Regions from separate parts of the Homo sapiens genome. Here all the other regions are linked to region 1. Evidence: promoter capture Hi-C in 16 types of primary human blood cells and fetal thymus (Javierre and others, 2016). All regions are on one chromosome and are shown on one strand. The core of a region is centred on a gene start or on the middle of the fragment in contact, and the rest is flanking DNA. Distances in the headings are between cores, read along the strand shown.

Region 1 (2,950 bases), core at 118-2,617:
CCTAATACATAGTCACACTCACTATTTGTTAAATACATGAATACATGCTAAAATAGGGTTTTATATATAGAGGGAGTATGGGAGCCCCCAAAAGGGACATTTGCTTAGTTTTATGTGTAAATATCGGGCTGGAGGGTGAGGTAAGGGTGTTATTTCAGAGGTATCAGGAAAAATTCCTTAAAGATGAGAACTGAGCTGAGTTTTGGGAGACAGAGGAAATTAGGTAAAAGTGGAGTTGGGGGTTGCTTAGGAGTTCCCATATCTTGTGGCGGAACTTCAAGCAGTTTCGGAGTGCCAAGACAACAGCCTGTAAATGTAAGCAGAAGAAAGATCTGGAAGGGCTTTCTAGGCTGTTTTATATATTTCCATTTTAGTATCCATATCCATATGCTTATTTTAAACACTTGTCCATAGATCCTTACTACACTGGTAGCTCATTGATGCTAAGGACTGCATGTAGCTTGTTATCCAGGTGCCCAGCATAATAATGGGGATATGGTAGTTCCTCAAAAGTTAATGCAGAAATGAAAGAACAAACGGAAGAATAACAAGTAACGGCATTGTGAGCACTCTCCAGTGATGAAGTCATCAGATGGTAGGGATGTCAGGAAAGGGGACTATACCAGGTTAGACAGAGACCTACTCAGCATCTTAACTAACGGTGAGGTAAGTTTAGTAAGCCTCACATCTCAGAAATAAAATCAGAGGGAGGAATGTTGGGAGTTTCAAACTGCTTTCCTAGCGGGAAGGTGAAAAAACACAAAATATAGTGGGGTGCGGTGCCTCATGCCTGTAATCCCATTTTGCTGAGGTGAGAGGATTGCTTGAGGCCGAGTACGAAACCAGCCTGGGCAACATAGCGAGACCCCCGTCTCTACAAAAGAAAAAATGTGAAATTAATGGCAAGCGCCTGTAGTTCCAGCTACTGGGATGAGGAGGGAGGATCGCTGGAGGCTGCAGTGAGCTACGATCGCTCTAGCCTGGGCGACAGGATGAGACCTTGTCTCAAATAGAGATAGACAGACAGACAGACTTCAGAATTTATTAGGGTTTGTAATTTCCAGGTTCCAAAGCACAGCAAGGGAAAGGGCCTGGCTGGGTAGTACGTTACACCCGGAAGTAAAGAGACGCATACACCGTTGGGTGCACTTTATAGTCTGGCTGGCAAACGAGCGACACCGACGCGCAGAGTTAAGTGCTGGGACTTCCCAAGCCTGGAAAGCAGACCGTGTCTCTGCAACTACGCGGCTGCCACGAGCGCTGAGCGGCCGGGCATTTGGCCTCGAGGAGGAGGCACTGTAAGGGCGGCGCAAGAGGGCGGAACGCGGGACGCCAGGCACCCTAGCTCCCGACGGACGCAGTTTTCAGTTGCACGGGCGAGCTCCGGGCCGGCTGCGGAGCGACTCCCCGCCGCCAAGTGGGCGGCGTGGCTGTCGGGAAAGAAGGGCTGGGGCCTGCCGTTCTTCCTCCCGAGTATCCCCTCCAGCTGGACGACCCCACGCTGCAGCACGGGCTTCCGGCTTCTCTCCTCAGTGGCCAATTCGAGGGCACAGCGGGCTCCGGAGGCGCGGCGGCAAGCCTATCCCGCCTCCCAACCACAGCCTCCAGCACCCGAGAGAACGGCCGCCCACAGCACACGTTCTCCGGACAGGAGGGCGAAGGCCCAAGACCTGGAGAGGTGGGCTCGAGGGAAAGATCTGGGTCCCACCACTACTTCCTGGAGACGCCGGGGAAAGCAGGCCATCCTTCGAGCCACCCATCTCTTCTCCGATTGGTTAACTGCCTTCTTATTGCGCTCCGCTGGCTGGTGATTGGTTGGGATGCACCGTCTATCACCTGCTTCCTTGTGAGAATCTAGGTCTCTAAGGGAAGCGTTACTTGAGGCTCGGTTGGGAAGAGGTTGGTTGGGCCTCTTGAGCCCACTTTATTTATCGTAGTGGGGATCGTCCCCCGGCGCGAGCTTCCGTCGCAACGGCCGGGAAAGAAACCAGTAGCGGGACGGAGGGCGGGGGTGGCAAGAAAGTCAAGGTTTAGAAGTAAGCCGGAGACGCCTAACCCTGGTAACATCCGAATGGGAACGGGATAGGAAGGAAGGCCTTTGAGAGAGGAGGCGTAAACCCAGGAACAGTGACAGTGTAGGACGAAAGGCCTAAGTTTGTTGCGGAAGGTAGGGGCCTTGCGGGAGGTTTTCGTGACCTAATTGTATGGGGATCTAATTTTCTAGATGTGTCTAACAAAATCCACTGGAGAATTTGCTTTGGCTTTGCAGCAGAGTGGGGAGACTACCACCCGTTCCTGGCCTTTAAAGAAACAGTTTATTGAATTATTCAACTCTCTTTTATTGCTTCAGATGGGCAGCTCTCAAAAAAGGCACAAACAATTGAAGGATGGATACCATGGCATATGTTAAAAGCGTGTTGAAAGGAAAATAAGGTATTCGCTTTGTTTTCATTGTGATTAACTGTATAAGAAAATTACCTTTAAGGAGAAGCTCAAGTTTTAAATAATATTAGGGTAACTTGATTTTATGATAGGCTTCAACTTGTAAAATTATTTATTACAAAAATCCTATTATTGCTGTACCTACGAAATATGCTCTTTGCTAATTATGGTCTTAATCTGAAGATAGAGATCTTGAGTTTTTAGTAGTGTTAATTCATATTTGAGTGGATAATGTTACTAGGTCATTTGTTCAAAATGACATAATAAAATAACCACAGTGAAAAAAATCCTTGAATTTGTAATTTAGTGTTACAGGTGAAATTGAATAGTTGCTTACTCCAACAGTATTTTAGACTTGTAGGCTAATTTCACCTTATATTTAAAGCAGCTTGCTTATTAAATACCTAGTGTATTTCGAGAGGCAGAGTTGCACAGTTGCTTCACTGGTAGCCTAGCCATTTGAGCCTCCAGCCTCTACTGAGTCAGGTGCTGTATTACTCATACCCTT
Region 2 (2,950 bases), core at 161-2,660, 470 kb before region 1:
AAGTGTGAAAGCCACAGACAGCCCCCAGCAAAACATCTTTGTAAAAGGTGTGACCCAAAGAAAATCAGTGCAGGCCTTTGCTGTCCTAAATGCATCCTCTGATGCTGCCTGTCCCAGCTGGGGCCACGGGGTGGGGTCCTGCTGCTGTGGCGCAACGCCTCTTAGGTCTCCACTGCCTGCTGGAGGAGGAGGGAGGGCTGGCCCGACAGCGCAGGAGATGCATCACGCAAACAGCCTAGGGCAGAAGTCAGGGGGCAGGACACGGGCCATGCAAGGACACGTAAGAGTGCCAGGCTGATGTCAGACACCTAAGAGTGCCAGGCTGATGTCACGGCAGCCAGTGGGGGGAAGCTAGAAGAGGCCATGCTGACTTTCTCCGCCTGCATGCAGTGTGCCAGCCCCTGTGTCTGCCACAAGGACCCAAGCAGAGACTATGACCCTCTCCCTACTCCAGCCCGGGAAGGCCATCCAGTGAGTAACATCAGTGGGGACAGCCCACAGGCAAAGCTCAGGCCCCCACCTCTCCTCCCTAGGCCCTGAATAGGAAGGAGCTCCTGAATGACCTGTGCCAGGACCGTGGGCTCCCACGTGCTTTGTGCGGCCAGCACCGTTGATCTGACCAAGCGGGAAGCTCAGGGGCGTGCAGACAGCAGGGGCTGTGGAACAGGGAGAGCTGCTCCGAGAGGAACATGGGAGTTAAGGATGGCAGCTCTGCATCTTTCCATCTGGGGTCCAAAGATGAAAACGACTGGGTCATAACCCAGCTCACCTTTGTGGGCAGGGTTTCAGCTGCTGCCAACCAGACACCGGAGGAAGGGACAGCCCCTGATGGAGAGGGCGCTGGGTCCCCCTGGAGTCCATGAGGCACCATTAGTCGTCCAATAGCCCAGAACATCGCAGGTGGCATCTTCGGGCTCCTGTCAATCATTCCAGGTCAGCACGAAGGGCAGGGCCTAACTCTGGCGTGCCTAGTAAGAACCACTCCAGAAGGCTACCGGGTAAACTGTGGATTCTGGGTCCTGTGCTCAAGGTTTTGATGCAGTAGGTTTGGGATGGGGCCTGGAAATCTGCATTTGAACACGCATACCAGGGGAGCGGGTGAGTGGAGCCCAGAGTCCCCCGTCCTCCAGCTTAGCATGACTCAGTGTGTGAACCCCTCACTGGGGACCCCTCTGTGCCTGACCTCGCCTACAGGGGCAGATGACACGAAAATCAAGCCCTTCTGATGCCAGATCTGAATCCCTGGCTCTGAGCTCATCCCACAAGGTTCCTTGTGGGAATGAGCCTGGGAGGAACCCAGGCTCAGCTGAGAAGGCACTGAAGGGGACTCCTTCCTGGTGCCCAGGGGCATCTCGGCTCAGACACAACTTCTAATCTCTGCTGAGAGAGGGCCAGCTCCTTTATTAACTTATGTGGGCTTCTGCACCCCCAAAACCCAGTGTGGCAGGATCTGACCGGGTTGGCATTGGAAGCATCAGGGGAAGACAGGAGAGGACAGGTCACCTGTCGGGGGAAGAGGGAAGGACAGCAGAAACCAAGGCGATGTGGGGGCCACAGGGACCCACGGCCTCTGTGAGGAAGGAGCCTGGCAAGGAAAGTCGTGCTGGTGGAGGGAGGAGGGAGGCTTACAGTGACAAGGCGAGCCAGAGACCAGGGACAGGAGGGACACAGGGCTGCTGGAGCCACAGCAACACTGCGACCTGTGCAAATGGAAATGTGGCCAGGTGCCCTGGGAGGAGGCAACCTGGGGCCCTTCATGGTGAGTCATCCAGTGCTGATCACCATGCTGCTTCCTGCCCCGACCTCAAGGCATGTCGCTGAAATTCCCCAATTGGAAAACCAAATGAAGGCCCAGGTCTTTGATTTTTGGTGTGTGTGTGTGTGTGTGTGTGTGTGTGTGATTTTTGTTGTTTTTTTGTGAGACACAGTCTCACTCTGTCACCCAGGCTGGAGTGCAGTGGTGCGATCATAGTTCACTGCAGCCTTGACTCCCTGGGCTCAAGCAATCCTCCCATCTCAGCCTCCTGAGTAGCCGGAACAACAGGAGTGAGCTGCCATGCCCAGCTGATTTCTTTTTCTTTTTGGAGCAATGGGGTCTTGCTATGTTGCCTAGGCTGGTCTCAAACTCCTGAGCTCAAGTGATCCTCCCATCTTGGCCTCCCAAATTGCTGGAGTTACAGGCATGAGCCACCACCATGCCTGGCTAGGTCTCTGAAATATTAAAAGACATGTCAAGGAGCTGAAAGCTGCTCCCCTAACTTAATTATCAAGATCTTCAAGTGTGGCTCTCAGAAGATACACTTCAAACCACCGTCACCTACACACATGCAAAGAAACATCTTCTGAATGCGGATGCTAAGTCATGTTCACAGGTTCAGGACGTGCCAGCTGCAGAGTCAAACTGCTGTTTCAACTGGTTTTAGGCCACAGCAGCTGACGCACATCCTCGAATATGAAATGCTTTTAAATGTCACTTCACGTTAAGTACCACTTGGTAGGTTTTTAAATTACTCTTAAATGGCATATTTTCTTAATTTTTCTTCATGGTAAATCATCGGCCAATTCACCACCTCTAACTAATCATGGTGCTGTATTTAAAGCTAATTACTCACATCACAAGTACACAGGGCAAATGCAGTGGGGCAATTAAAAGATCGCACGTACAGATATCCACAGGACAGTGCTCACGTGTTTTGGCAAATCAATGTCCAGGTGCCAGGCCCGGGAAGAAAGTATACTCGGGAAGCAAATCTCCTTCTCATCTAGTTCCCTGTTGGGACACCTCTACAAGTTACCCACACCTCCAAATTAAATATCCATGTCCTCAAAAGCTTGTGACACAGCTCTGTATTGGGACTGTCTTCACAGAACACAAAATCTGAGTACAGTACACAGTCCCATAACAACGTGAACCCTTACATACTGGTGATGCTAGGCAGTGGTTACAAAG
Region 3 (2,950 bases), core at 302-2,801, 420 kb before region 1:
CAATTTTACCCTTCAATAATTTACAAGCAGTCTTCATGTAATTATGTGAATTTGTATATTTTTATCAATTACCACTACCAAAAGTCAATCATAAGAGCTTAGATTCCAGGAAAATTTTATTTTAAAAAACATTTTATGTAATTTCTTTACATACTTTTGCCTTAGCTAATGATTATAGATATTATTAAAAATATATCCGTAACAATACAGTACAACTCTATTAAAGAAACCAATACTTACCTGCAGCGTTTCTTCAAGATAAATAAAAGTAGTTGAGTTAAAAAAAAATTTGCCCTTCGCTTGAGGCTACCAATATGGGACATTTCATGGAAGATTTTCTAGTTATTAACAGAGTTTCTGAAAAATTTAACTGTGAAAACCTGTCACCAAAAATGCCACATAAACCACCTAAACTGAAAAGGAGCAGGATGAAGTGAGAAAACAAGATCAGAAAATAAATGTAAAAGTTTGGGGGAAAATAGTGCAACTTCAAAAAGCTTTGAAGGAAAAAGCATTTTCATGCATATTTGAGTCTTATAAAATATTCTTCAGATATTTAATATTAATATTCAAAATGAGAATAAGAAGCAGCCTTTTCTTCCTAGCTTGCATTTGCCATACATCTATGCATGCCAATATATACGTGGTACCATATACATAAAATAACCAGCTGATCTGTTCACCTCAATGCAGAAATCAGTATCTGCATTTTAACTTTTAGTAGGTTAAAATCAGCAAATCTATTGTTTGGCTTTATACTATGGTTCATTTGGGATGTTATTCAATCAACAGATATTTATTAAGTAGGTACTATGTGCCAGGCATATTACAGGTGTTAACTAGTTTTCAATCTATTACACTTAAAAAACAAAACAATTGGTCCTATTCAAGTTTAACAAAATAATTCATAATAATTGATAGTTTAAAAAATTACCAATTATCTTCATTTTCAAAAGCTTTTAAAAATTAACACTATTTTAAATCTGTACATTTGATCTCATCTAATAATTTGTGAGTTGGTAAGAGCATCACATCTTCATTGCCTAAAGTTAAGCATCACAAGCCCAGTACAGGTGCAGTGGTCAATTTCATACTGGGAAATACAGAAGGAGAAAGGATCTTTTCCTTAAAGCTGCAATCTCTTCTTTGGACAATCATTTAACTATTAAAATCAATTTGCTAACAAAAAGTTAATGTCATTGGTAATCAGAAAAAAGATGGCTTACTCAGACTGCTCAGCTGGCGTATGATAGCGGCAAGAGTACTATTGGTTACACATTCAAGTTCGCTGGTAATCCCTTCAGGCAGAGCTCCCCGGCACAAGTGCCGGGGCTCAATGTTCCTCTTCACTAAAGGCATGGTTCACAATCTGAAAATTGAAAACACATTCTTTATAAGCTCATATTCACATTTTAACAAATCTGGAATTTTAATTCCCTTGAAAATTGACTATTTTCCAGGAATTTTCATTATCCTAAAATTTCTATGTGACAGAATCAGCTAAAATGCAACAAACAGTGAATTACTTTAGTGAGTTTTATAGAGCCTGAAGGTACATGTATAGTATAATCTCACTTCATAGAAAAATAATATATTCCATATTTCTGACTTCTCTCTTCACTGAAATGAGGAGAGAGAGGAAAGGCAAAAAGTCCACATGTATCAAGAGCAAGAGAGGAGACACAAGCCACAAACCTGAAGACCACTTAACCAGATTAAGAGACAGGAAAGGCCACCATTATGACATCACCCCAGTTGTCCCACAGAACTGGTGTTTATGGTTTCTTTGAATAAACGTAGAAATTGACCCTCCGAGTCTTGAAGCCTGAGCAAGTTACATTTGTCTTATCTGAATTGCTTTCTCAGGCAACCATCCATCCGGCCTTCCAGGTAGTATTAAAAAACTAAAACTTACTAGATCATCTCATCTGGACCATGAGAAGTCAGACTCCTCACCCATCATGACTGCTTAAGACCACCTGTTCCCTGTTGACCAACTCCTCTTCCTTATCTCTCCCTAATTCCTGTTTTCTCACATATAGTTACCTTTCTTCCTGCTACATAAACCCCTAATTTTAGTAGGTCAGGAGGATGGATTTGAGGCTTATCTCCATCTCCTGAGCTATAGCACCCAATCAAAGCTTTCTTCCCTAGCAACACTCATTGTCTCAGTGATTGGCTTTCTGTGTGGCACGCAACTGGACCTAGACAAACCTCTGGCATTTTGGTACACCTAGGCTGCTAACTGGGGGCAGCAGGTCAATGTCCCCATTTACCAACCCAAGCAAGTAAGCCCACCTGAGCCACAGAACCTTCTCCCTCCCTACAAAAGGCTCAGGAGTAGGAGGCACCAGGTAAGTGCGAAACGGGAATTGAGGGGAGATAAAACAGGTGGGGTGGCTTTTAAAACTCCTTTTAAGAATGCCTTCTCCCTTCCTGGGCTGTCTTCCTCCACCCAACCCAGGATGTTTTACTCTCTGGAAAAGAAAGGTAAATTAAAGAATTTGAACTTGGGACTCTAGGCATAGCTAAAGGTAGGGGAGGAAATGTACTGGAAACAGGAATACTAAATCAAAGTCTACAATGACTGGTGAGACAGCTCCCCAACCTCTTGTTCCACTTGGCTCCTAGAACACAGGCAGCCTGGCTTTTACTCCCATCCAAAAACACTGGAGCATTCCTTCCTGGGGAATGTTTGAAGAGAAAAGATCTACAAATATGAACACTGGGGAGGGAGGCTTTCCCCTGCTGAAACTGCCACCCAGGCAGTAACACCTGTCAAAATCTCCCCAAGCACCCAGAGTGCACCAGCTTTTAGTGCCTCAGACTTAAATAAGAGTCAAGGATCACCAAACACTTCAGAAAAGCCTTCTCCAACATCCTAGGCATCCCTTTCACCCCTCTCCTCAAAAAGGAGATGATATGCTGGGCTCAGTGGCTCAAGCCTATA
Region 4 (2,950 bases), core at 187-2,686, 400 kb before region 1:
TAGAATAATGTAATGGTTCATTTTATGTGTCAAGCTGACTGGGCTAGGAGATACCCAGAGCTGCTGAAACATTATCTCTGGGTGAGTCTGTGAGAGGGTGCTTCTGAAAGACATCAGCACTAGAATCAGTGGACTGAGTAAAAAAAGATCCACCCTCACCAAGGTGGGTGGGCATCATCCAATCCACTGAGAACCTGAACAGAACAAAAGAGTGGAGGAAGGATGAATTTTCTCTCTCTCTCTCTCTTCTTAAGTTGGGACATCCATCTTCTCCTGCCCTCAGACATTGGAGCTCCTGGTTCTCAGGCTTTCAGACTCCAAAGCTTACACCTGCACCACCTTCCCAATCCCAGGTCCTCGAGTCTTTGGCAATGGACTGGGAGTTATACCATCAGCTAGGCACAATGAATTACACCACTGGCTTTCCTGGGTCCCCAGTTTGTAGACAGCAGATTGTGGGACTTCTCAGCCTCCATAATTGTGTGAGCCAAATTCCATAATAAATCTCCTCATAAATCTATATATCCTATATGTTCTATTTCTCTGGAGACCCCCTAATATAAACAGTATATTTCCATTTTCTTCTTCCATGCTTTGTCCAATGTTGTCATATATTTTACCTCTTATAAACCCCACATTACTATTGTTTTTGCTCTGGACAATTATCAATTAATGTAATTAAAAATAAGAAAAAATATAACATATTTATTCTCTTTTACCATTTCAGGGTCTCTTCATTTCTTTGTTTAGATCCCAACCGCCATCTGATGCCCCTTCTGCCCAAGAACTTCCTTTCATTTCTTACAGTGCAGATCTGTGGCAATAAATTCCCTCAGCTTTTGTTTGTCTGAAACATTCTTTATTTGGCCTTTAATTTAAAAATATATTTTTGCTGGGTATAGAATTATGCATCGACAGGATTTGAGCTTTTTCTCTTGATACTTTAAAAATGTTATTTCACTGTCTTAATGACTTTCATAGTCTCTGACAAGAAGTCTGCTGTTATTCTTACCCTTGTTCCTCTGTTTGTAATGTTTCATTTTCTTTAAACTATGGCTGCCTGCAAGACTTTCCCCTTTACCTTGGGTATTTCAGCAACTTGATTCCAGTGTTTCTAGAACTTGGAGGGTTCTTAAAAAAAAAAATCCTGCTTGGGGTTCTCTGAGATTCTTGGATCTGTTTGTCTTATTAGTTGTTTCCTGTCTTTCATTAATTTGGGATAATTCTCAGCAACTGTGCCTTCTAGTATTTTTTTCTGGACAGTATCTTCTCTTTTCCTTCTGGGTTTCCAATTACATGTGTGTTAGACTACTGATACTGTTCCATAGTTCTTAGATGCTCGGTTTTGTCATCCCTCCCCTTCCCCACTCCACTTTCCTCTTTCCTTGTTTCTTCTTTTGTTTCACTGTTCCTTTTTATATTCTGCTGATTTAGCTTTCATTATTTTCTCAGCTACATCCAGTTTGCTAATAAACCCAATTTGTTTTTACATTTCCAACAGTTTCCATTTAACTCTTAAAAACTTGTTTCCTTATTTCTGTTGATATAGACTTTTCTCAATACATTTTTCAATACATTAATCACAGTTATTTTTAAGTTCCCATATCTAAGTTATCTCTGAGTCTGTTTCCATTGATTGCTGATTGCTTTATCTCTTGATTTACAACACGTCATTCTTTCTTGCCTTTTTTGTCTCATAATTTTGTGCTGAATGCTGGATATCATTTGCAAAGCAGTAGAGACTAAGTAAACAGTATTTCTTGTCCAGCAATGAATTCACATGTTCTTCTAGCAAGCCATTACTAAGGTTGATTGAGTCAACCTAGTCAGGGTTTGAGGGAGATGGCTGCTATTGTTATCTGATACACCAAGCATCAAAATCCCCTAGCCATGGGCTGCTGTCTTGTGCCTAGTGTGCTAGACTTTTTTCAGTGTTCCTGATCATCCTGTAGTTCCTTGACATTTATGTCACAAAGGTGACACAAATTCCTCTTTACATTCTTGCTCTCCAGAGATGACTGTTATTGCTACGTTACCAGGTGCTAGGCTCCTTGCTCTCCCTGGCCCAGCCTAAATTTTAGGAATGATCCATATACCTGGACCTCAGAGTGGGGCCTTCTCAGGATCTGTGCATCTCTTCTCCAACACAACTAAACTCTGCCTGATATTTGTCCCTGTCTTGGGCATGAAAGAGTTCCTGTCCCTCATGCAGCAGAAAGAGAACTTTGCTTTGCATCAGTGAAAGATTATGAGCCTAAGAGTCTGTCCTGCTTTTGCTATTAATTACCCTTCGTCCCAGAAGCAGAGGATCTTGCTGGTCACAGGGCAGGAAAGAGGGTTTCCTAAACCTCTGCCAGAAATAGATCTTTGCTGAGTCCTATGGGCTAGAGGTTTCATTGCCCTCCTGGGAACTCTGTCATAGGAGAGAAGGCTGTGGGGAAGCAGGTGTTACATCATGCCTGTCTCCCAGTGGCAGCTGAGATTACCTCCCGCAGAGCAGCACGATCAAAAGAGGTTCTGTCTAGTCTCCAGGCTTGCTCATAAGCTTTCTTAAGAGTACCCAGTGGAGGGCTGTAGAAAACAGCTTATGAGTAAGTGTAACCTTCCCCTTGTATCTGGGGTACCTGGTTATCCTAAACTGATGCATTAGCCCATACTCAACCTTAAGAATGCATTACAATTTTTGCTGAATTCTTCTTATGCACTTCTATGATGGTTACCTGTTCCCCCTGTGCTCTGCTAAATGTGAAACAGTTCAAGTGTCCTGTCTACTCTCAGATGGGTTTGTCACCCTTTGGGATTTAAGAAAAGTTATTGCTTTCTAGATAATCTGGCCTTTTTTGTTTCTTAAAATAGAAGCAATGTTCTCTTATATCCTAATTGGAAGAGAAACTCCACCTTCACAGTAAGAACAAGGGTAACATATCAGCTTCTTCTTTTGTTAAGACAT
Region 5 (2,950 bases), core at 227-2,726, 380 kb before region 1:
GCAGACTGAGAACTGGAGGAAAACCAGGGGCCAGCAGGGCAGCTGGACAGAGGGGCAGAGGTCCTGAGGGTGGAAGCACTGACCAGAAGGAAGGGCCTGAGGACAGGAAAGACAGGGAGAGACCAAAGGACCCTGGCGCCTCTGTCCAGGATTGTGCAGAGAACACAGATACAAGATCACCAGTTATGAAATACCAGGATTCCAGAAGTTTTAAAACTCCCCTGTTCTAAAAAAGTGGGACACTGTGTCCTTGGCTGATCTTTTGGCACTTTCTGTTGCTCTTGACCCCACAAAGATTACAAAAACAGTGGCTTCCAGGGAGGCCCTTGAGATGACAGTTTAAACCTTGAAACAAATCCAACCCAAGTAAAAAGATTTTCTTGCCCAAACTACTTTGTATTTTTCTCTGCTTTAATTACTGAACCCTATAACTAGAATTCATCCCTGATTCAAAGAGATGCTAAAAATAGCCTATTTCAGAATGTAGAATGAGAAGCATCGTGTAATTTTGCTACTAAATGGACTCCTTCTTTTTTTTATAGTTCAGTAACTTACTCTTCAAATACATTTATTTTTATCAACCAAAAAAATGCAAAGCACTTCGGATGCACATTAAACAGTAATTTTCAATACTAATTATGTATTTATAAGTTTATAAGTGAAATCTCAGGCATACACCAACCTTACTTAAAAACAGCCGCCTGACTCTTTCCCCCTAATCATGACCTTCATTAAACAGCTTTGATTGCAAAGAGTACCACCTCATTTACATATGATGAATGAATTAAAGCTCTTATCCAACAGGCTCCCCATTGCAACTGGCAATTTATTAATAACAACTTACATCTGAATCCACAGTGCCATTTACAAAGGGCTTTCACATAAATCATCTCATTTAATCCCCTACAACCTTGACACCTGCAAGGTAGGAATTAGTTTAACTATCTTGCAAATTAGGAAACAGTCTAATGGAAGACTCATCCAAAAAAAATCACACAGTAAATACAGGTGGAAGACACACTCACCTACATCTATCTCACCTAAGTCCCAAGGTTTATTCCAAACTCCACTCCTTCTATGACTGACTCTATCTTCTTCACTATGGCTGCAGGACCACACCAACCTAGCTAGATCACCCCACCCTCCTAACTCCAACAGAACTCACTAGGAGTATCACCAGTGTGAAACCCAACACATGCTACTTTCCACTGGGATTTACCTTCAGAGGCCTGTGTTTTGTCTTCTCAACTCTATACATTAAACTACTGTTTATCATGCCACCTATGAATCACCTGGTAGACAAATGTCTTTCTTTCCTTAATTTCAGCAACCAAACCAGGGCATTACCCTTAGCTTTGGCCCCACCATCCTGTCTCCAACCAGAAAATCCTTGAAGTTGTTCACAGGCCATCATAAATAAGTATAAAAGAGGTTTCCCTTTTTTAAAGTTTTTTACAAATATTTTTAGTAGAGAGACACAGAGTCTCACTGTGCTGCCCAGGCTGGTCTCAAACTCTGGCCTCAAGTGATCCTCCTGCCTCAGCCTCCCAAATGCCAAGATTATAGGTGTGAACCACCACACACAGCCCAAAAGAGGTTTTCTTAACTGTGCTTAAAGTTGCTTTATATCCTTTACTGGTTTGAGTCTCTGCCTTTCTCCCATGCCTATATCCCATCCCTGGTCTCTGACTTCCTATTGCCTCCTGAGCACCTGCTCAACCAAACAACTAGTTATTTGTGTTTTTATTTCCTTGATTTGACCTACCTTGATTCCTGAATATTCACCTGGTTCCTGTTCAGGTGCTGGAACACCTTTAACTTCCAGCCTCACCTTGCTCTCTGAAACCAGATTTTCTAATCTGTCCTCACATTAACTACAGTCCAACCCCTACAAAAGGTACCACCCAGGCCCCGACACAAGAAGCTGCTGAGCTTTCTACAACTGGCCAGAAGAAGAATAGTGCTGTCTTTTTTACCTTCAGCTTATACCTGCAGCTCCACACTTCCACAGCTATTTCAGGAGAAAGACAAATTTAACAGAGGTACCAACAGCAGTTACTCTTACCTCCCCATGGGCCCTTATCGCCTTCCTCTTCAAGCTCAGACTTAAAAATCAGGTGACAAATATCCTGGGCTAAAATACTACACAGTCAGCAATCTGTTGGATACCAACGGGTTAGATCATAACCAGATCAGGATTTCCACTTAGTTTCATTAAATGTGTTGAGTCTTACATTTGGACAAAGAAAATAATGAAAATCATGACATAAGTGCACGAAATATACAGAAAATCTGTACATTATCAAATAGAAATAGCAAGATGTAAATACTGCATTGCAGAGGTATTTTTTTCATTATTACCATGACAATTTTTAAATACTCCAAAATCAAACTATATTTCAAAATTACCTCTATAATACTAAACCTGACATAAAGATTTCATGTGCAATTCAACAAATAACTTCAGTTTTTCTTTTTCTCTCTCTGAGGATAAAGTATAATAGTGGCCACTATAACAAAGAGATTCATAAACCTGTACCCACAGGGGATCCTATGTGTTCAAACAAAACTGACAAACACAGCAGTACCATTTTTACAACATGTCTACATTCAAAGCTCCTGAGCCTCTAGTCAAAACCTAACTCACTATATCTAAAGTAATCAGGGAACTAAATGGCCCACCATCATGCCACAAGAATACTACAATTTATGAGAGAAGATACAAACGAACAAAAACAAGGAAAAAATGACCTCCTAGAAATAAATGTAAAAGTTCAGTCACCTAAGTAACTCATTATTGCCAAAAACATTTCTAGCATCAAATTCTATCTCCAATTAATTAAGTAGCAGTAATCATTTAATCAGTGGCATCCAATATAATCCTGTAGGAAACATTTTCTGAAGCCCAGAGGCTGCATGGTAAAGGGGAAAGATCAGAGGTATGGGGGTC
Region 6 (2,950 bases), core at 336-2,835, 340 kb before region 1:
GTCCCCTCAGCACCTGAAACTTAACCCAGCCAAGTGTGACCCATAATCTTTTCCCCAAAATGGATGCTGCTCTGTCCCCACCTAAGGACAGTGCCATCACCCAACCACCCAGCCAGAGCTGGACACTGCCCTGAACTCCTCCCTGCCCCAACTCCCCCCACCACATACACACACACGGCCAATGACCAAATCCCAGCAATTCTACCTCCTCAAATTTCCCTGCTTCAAGCCTTCCCTCTTCTAATCCATTCTCCAAAGGGCAAATTTGACCGTGTCCCTCTTTTGCTTACAATTCTTCAACCATTTCCTGTTGCCCACAGAGGTCTCCGAACTCCACACAACAGTAATCACAAGACCCCACAAGGCACAGTCCCTCCTTACTTCTCCTCCCTCACTTCTTGCCACTTCCCTGCCCTTGCCCACAACCACCCCCACTGGACTGAACTCCTGGTGTTTGTGGTTGCTCCAGTGCATCACCTCCCTGACCATCTCTCTGTACACCCTCTCCTCAACCCAGACTTCGACCAATTCCTTCTCATGGTGCTTCCTCTGGGAGGCTTTCCTGTCTCTCTGAACGTCCCTAAGCTTGGGTTTATGGTCCTCCTCTGAGCTCTTGTTGCTGGCCCCTTTCAGATCCCATATCAAACAATACATTGTAACCAACGGTTAAAACTCTTTGAGACTGAACTGCACAGCAAGCTCATCGGGGGCTGACAGAGGTATCTGTCTTGTTTATCTCTGTATCCCCGGCACATATTAAAACTCTGAAGTGTACTGAATGAATAAAGCAAATGAATGAATGGATTAGGTCATGCATGAGGCTCCTACATCCCTCACTGATTACTGACTCTATCATGGTACTTATCACACTGCACTGTAATTGCTTGTCCTGGTAGACTATGAACATCTTGAAAGCGTCTGTCTCTTATTTTTGCAACCCTAGTGATTAAAATAGTACCTGGTACCTAGTAGGCATTCATGAAATGGTTTTTTTAACATACAGGGTTATATATTTCATCTACAGTATTAAATGGAAAAAATCCAGAAGGATACACCCTATATTATGGTTACCTCTGAAGAAAGAAATAGGAATAGGACAACAATAAGACGGGAAAAAGAAAACTTAAGACTTTTTACCTCTATAAATCTCTGTGTTGATATTGTTTATTTTATAATGTACATCATTTATGTATTACTGGCATAAAATATTTCTGTATTACCAGCATAAAGTCAAGCCACAGGTAAAGAACCAGCCCTGAAGAAGAATGTGTGGGGCTGTCAGAAGCATTTAGTTCCACATGCCCAAGAGCAAAGCCAAAAAAAGCCTGACTTGAAAGAAACAGGGCCCTTAAAACGGACTGAGAAGAGAAGTTGAGAGATTCGGCCGGGAGCGGTGGCTCACGCCTGTAATCCCAGCATTTTGGGAGGCCGAGGTGGGCGGATCAACCTGAGGTCAGGAGTTCGAGACCAATCTGTCCAACATGGTGAAACTGCATCTCTACTAAAAGTACAAAAATTAGCCGGGCATGGTGGCGGGCGCCTGTACTCCCAGCTACTCGGGAGTCTGAGGCAGGAGAATCGCTTGAACCCAGGAGGCGGAGGTTGCAGTGAGCCGAGATCACACCACTGCACTCCAGTCTGGGAGACAAGAGCAAGACTCCGTCTCAAAAAAAAAAAAAAAAAAAAAAAAAAGAAAGAAAGAAAGAAAGAAAAGAAAAGAAAAAGAGATTCAAGGTCTACAGCAATGGAGAGCCACCCAAAGTGAAAAACAATCTGGGAGTACTCTTCAAAGAAAGTCCTTGGAATTCCAAAGACGATCACTAGTACTAGCCCGTGAGTAGGGACAATTCATTTAATACTTGCATTATAACGCAATTGTTTTAATCAAAACATCCCAATAACCAAAAGGTTACCTGCCATACATAGGTTTCTATGGGAACCGTAACGTGTGACTACAAAGACACACTGACAAGAGATAGGAGGTTACAATGTTGGCATGACCACTTAGCAAAGTGTGTTCCACCTTTGTTTTCGTAATTGTTGAAGATAGTGAAGCACATCATTGACTATTAGGTTGTAAATTTTAAAGCAAACAGATTTTTTAAAAACAAATGCTATTAAGCAACTTCATGTCAGCCAACTGGAAATGCAAGAACAATTTCTATATGTACATAGTTCTAGAATAAGCACAGGTTGGAAGGTAAATATAATAGTTGACCAAACTTTCCAATATTTAAACATGTGAAAAGACACAGCTTTTGTGAATACCAACTAAGAAAATCTTTCAAGATGAAGAAAAATGAGTACTACACTGAAGTCATTAGAACCCTGGGAGAAGGGAGCTGGAGAGGACACAATGAGAATGCCTTTGGGAAAGGTCAAACCCAGCTTTCGTTTGTTTAACCTCTCAAGCAGATAAAAGAACTAGCTTTAAAGAACCACTGCATTGTTTAACTGCTAGAAAAGGAGAGTTGGGTAAAGCACATATAAAAAGAAGCAATAGAATTTGCCCTAGAGACAATAGAAAGATTAGTCAATTACAATACTTTGAACTTAGTTTTGATAGAGTCGCATTTTAAGCTTTAGATAAACCTAATTTTTAAGATGCAAAATATTTCAAATAGCTATCCTCTCCCCCTTATAAAAAGTAGACTCTGAATCTTAAAATACCATGTTCTGCTATGCATTTAATTTGAAGAACTGCGAAAAGTAGTCTTTTTAATTTTCAGTTTTTGAAAACTCGAGACTGTTGCTGGAAGTAAACCGCTAATTTAAAAATTAACCTTAAAATGAGAAAGAATTCCTATGATGCTCCCATTGATCCCTAAGCCCATCACATAGTTTCTGAATAATTAAGAACTCTCGTCTCCACCAGGGAACTCTCCCTTGCAGAGGGGCCAAATCAAGAAGCAATCGCCATTGCACGTCAGCACCACAAACTGAGAGGAAG
Region 7 (2,950 bases), core at 203-2,702, 280 kb before region 1:
CAGCTACTCAGGAGGCTGGGGCATGAGAATCACTCAAACCAAGGAGGTGGAGGCTTCAGTGAGCCAAGGTCACGCCCCTGCACTCCAGCCTGGGCAACAGAGAGAGACTCCATCACAAAAAATAAAAATAAAAATAAAAATAAATTGACATTTCCCTCCTTATCTTGGGAGTTAATTAATATTTTAAAATTAATAGACTATTTCTTAGAGCAGTTTTAAGTTCACAGCAAAATTTAACAGAAAGTTTCCATATACCCCTGAGCTCCCAGTAACCTCCTGGGTTCAAGAGATTTCTCCTGCCTCCGATTTCCGAGTAGCTGGGATTACAGGCACCTGCCACCAAGCTCGGCTAATTTTTGTATTTTTAGTAGAGACGGGATTTCACCAGGTTGGCCAGGCTGGTCTCAAACTCCTGACCTCAGGTGATCCACCCGCCTTGGCCTCCCAAAGTGCTAGGATTATAGGCATGAGCCACTATGCCCAGTCTCACCATAGGTTTTTAAGAAAAGTAGGCAGACAAGGAAAGGAAGATAATTCAAAAAATATTTTAAAACTCTATAATTAATTAAAAAAAACCCTATGATATAAGTACTATGATTATCTCCATTTCAGTGATGAGAATATAGAAGCATTATGGGAGTTGCCCAAGTCACACAGCACGTGGGTGGGGAGGTGGCCTTTGTTCCCTTGCTATTACTCAAATCATGGCACCTGGTCACTTCCTCAGCGATGCTTTGCCTCTTGACCCATGTAAAACCACCTTCTCCTTTCCTTTTCTCTCTCCTTAGCCTGGCTTATTTTCCTCCCTAGTGTTATTAGCAACTGACATTGTATCATACAATTACTGTGTTCTTTTTATTGGCTATCTCCCTCTCAGCAAGTATAAGCTTCATGAGGGGCTTTGTCTGCCTTATTTATCTGATTCCTAGTGCCCAGAAAAACACCTGACACATGGCAGGCACTCAATAAGTACTGAATTAATACGTTAATATTAAAGTGAATTTTAAAAACAAAGGAATGCATGTAACCCTTAAGAGAAAAATAGCTCTATGGGAGGATCCTAAATAGAATACCTTCCCACTTAATTTAACACTAGAGCCAGGAAAAAAAATTATCTTCCTAATTAAGTATTTTTTTCAAAATCTTAGAAAACAACAAATATCAGAAAACAATACAAATGCTTGCAGGCAACATAATATTAACAGGGCATCTAACGTTTCCTATTAGATTCATGCCCTTAGGAAGTCAGTAATTTAATAAGTGTAACAGTTGCCATGAACATTACACTACCTGTGAACACTCAGCATCTGAATCCCGCATATTAGAATCTGCTCCAGCCTTTGGAGACAGCAGTCCCTTGTGTTCCAGCAGTGTCAGTGTGCCTCCTGCTATAAACCCTGGGACCACGGCACACACTTTGGTAAATGTATGTAGCGGTTATCTCAGTTGATTAGGACATTCCCAAAGTGTGGTACATGTAAGAAAATATATTACTTTAACAGAAATATGTTATCTCTACTCTAAGAAATGTACCTGGCATTGTCGTGAGTTGGCCCAAGGAAGCCTGAGGATGTTACATTGAGAACGTCTGTAGGATAAGGAAACACAGAAAGTCATTCAGAAGTAATCAGTTTTTCAAGTAGTACTGAACTTTGAAGTCATTCTTTTCACACCCCAATCCTTCTAACACCTCCCACCTCACTGCAGCAGAGTGAGAGGAGTAATTTCCAGACAGCAGACAGTTGCAGCAGAACAGCATAGGCTGTGTCTGTGCCGTGTGGGCCTCCAGAAGCTCCCACTCCAGTGAGGCAAATCTAGCCTAGTGGGGCAGAGGGAGGACCTTCTGTCGGTCTCTTGGGACAAGTTGCTCAGCATCTTTGTTCCTCCATTTCCTCATTGTAAAATGCAGATAATGACAGTACTTACCCAGTGGGTTGGGATGAGTATTAAATTAGTCAAATCCCTGCAGACACTCAAAAACATTTATTAGGCCTGTCTCGCTGGAACAGAAGCTTCCTGAAGGCAAAGATTTTGTCTACTCTGTGTACTGTAGTATCTCAGTGCCTAGGTTGGGGCTGGCATGTGGTAAGTGCTCATTCAAATATTTGTGGCACGAATGAGTGAAAAATTCTAGCATAGCATGGATCTGTGCAGCAGCAGCATAGAAAGAGCATAGCTATATTTATAGAAATACTGAGGAGAAATTAACAGTTGATATCTCAATTTAAGCAATCACAAAGGAAGAATTCTGTCTACAATTGGCAAATCAACCCTGATATAAAGGAGGTAGCACTCCATTGCCAACTGGCGCAGGATTGGAAGCAGAACCAGGGCAACAAATAGAGAAGACGACCAGGCAAAGACCTTTCTTGTAGTCACTCCTGGATAAAGATATTGACTTCTTGGTGAGGAGGGATCAGATGTTAATGCCAACAGAAGGTTGCAGTTTCCCTAATATTTGAGGACAACCGGCATGCCATTGCTACATCTTCTTTTTCCAGTCTACTTGTGCCGTCTCCTTCAACCAGTCCGTGTGATGTGATTCTCAGAGTCCTCGCTACCCCTGACGTCTCATCCTTATCTACTTCCTGGCTGTCTTAACGGGTAGTTCTGGATGGGAAAGTCAGCACGCTACCCAGCCAGTGCAGGAAACAGCAGGCGTTCTAGAAACCGTGCTTTTATTCATACCCCCTAGCAGGCAGTAGCTGTTATAGCAACCGCTTCACACGATTCACAGTGAGCTCCTCATCAGTGACTTGCCCTGAGTCAACTCAACTACCAGATCCTCTGCACGTGGGCTTCTTTCATGTCAGAGAGCTGCCTGCCAGGTCCAGAAGAACTAAGCGTCTTAGTGAGTCAGTAGAACATTTTTTTATTTGGAAAGTTATATTCATATTTTTCCGTTATAAAAATAGAATTATGTAACTGAAAATTTTGAAAATAAAGACAA

Evidence for each region. Contacts are between HindIII fragments. The CHiCAGO score rates a contact against its expected background, and 5 or more counts as called.
Region 2: a contact is called between a fragment that was not itself captured here and the fragment with the promoter of RNF6 in region 1, in 2 of 17 cell types (endothelial precursors and megakaryocytes). The highest score is 8.6, in endothelial precursors.
Region 3: a fragment that was not itself captured here is called in contact with the fragment with the promoter of RNF6 in region 1 in 1 of 17 cell types (megakaryocytes); the score reaches 6.3 in megakaryocytes.
Region 4: a fragment that was not itself captured here is called in contact with the fragment with the promoter of RNF6 in region 1 in 1 of 17 cell types (megakaryocytes); the score reaches 5.3 in megakaryocytes.
Region 5: a contact is called between a fragment that was not itself captured here and the fragment with the promoter of RNF6 in region 1, in 1 of 17 cell types (megakaryocytes). The highest score is 5.0, in megakaryocytes.
Region 6: a fragment that was not itself captured here is called in contact with the fragment with the promoter of RNF6 in region 1 in 1 of 17 cell types (megakaryocytes); the score reaches 5.1 in megakaryocytes.
Region 7: a fragment that was not itself captured here is called in contact with the fragment with the promoter of RNF6 in region 1 in 4 of 17 cell types (endothelial precursors, naive CD8 T cells, total CD8 T cells and 1 more); the score reaches 7.1 in endothelial precursors.

The regions. Positions count from the first base shown.
Region 1 is chr13:26,220,731-26,223,680 of GRCh38, reverse strand. RNF6 (ring finger protein 6) reads left to right here and starts at 1,367. Exons shown (of 5, transcript NM_005977.4): 1 at 1,367-1,678; 2 at 2,351-2,433. RefSeq lists enhancers at 1,307-1,686, 832-1,713, 1,714-2,595 and a silencer at 2,137-2,186. The HindIII fragment of the contact is 7,611 bases long and covers 1-2,950 here.
Region 2 is chr13:26,692,751-26,695,700 of GRCh38, reverse strand. The region is part of intron 1 of LOC107984597 (a long non-coding RNA gene); the gene reads left to right. Among named protein-coding and RNA genes, the nearest start is that of GPR12, 67 kb to the left of the region's middle. RefSeq lists an enhancer at 1-31. The HindIII fragment of the contact is 2,846 bases long and covers 1-2,833 here.
Region 3 is chr13:26,640,680-26,643,629 of GRCh38, reverse strand. It overlaps WASF3 (WASP family member 3), which reads right to left. Exons shown (of 10, transcript NM_006646.6): 3 at 1,227-1,369. The coding sequence starts at 1,359. Among named protein-coding and RNA genes, the nearest start is that of WASF3, 84 kb to the right of the region's middle. The HindIII fragment of the contact is 1,185 bases long and covers 959-2,143 here.
Region 4 is chr13:26,622,835-26,625,784 of GRCh38, reverse strand. All of the region lies in intron 2 of WASF3 (WASP family member 3), which reads right to left. Among named protein-coding and RNA genes, the nearest start is that of WASF3, 67 kb to the right of the region's middle. The HindIII fragment of the contact is 2,222 bases long and covers 326-2,547 here.
Region 5 is chr13:26,602,184-26,605,133 of GRCh38, reverse strand. The region is part of intron 1 of WASF3 (WASP family member 3); the gene reads right to left. Among named protein-coding and RNA genes, the nearest start is that of WASF3, 46 kb to the right of the region's middle. The HindIII fragment of the contact is 4,088 bases long and covers 1-2,950 here.
Region 6 is chr13:26,558,551-26,561,500 of GRCh38, reverse strand. The region is part of intron 1 of WASF3 (WASP family member 3); the gene reads right to left. Among named protein-coding and RNA genes, the nearest start is that of WASF3, 2.3 kb to the right of the region's middle. The HindIII fragment of the contact is 1,995 bases long and covers 588-2,582 here.
Region 7 is chr13:26,502,803-26,505,752 of GRCh38, reverse strand. No RefSeq gene overlaps it. Among named protein-coding and RNA genes, the nearest start is that of WASF3, 53 kb to the left of the region's middle. The HindIII fragment of the contact is 1,125 bases long and covers 890-2,014 here.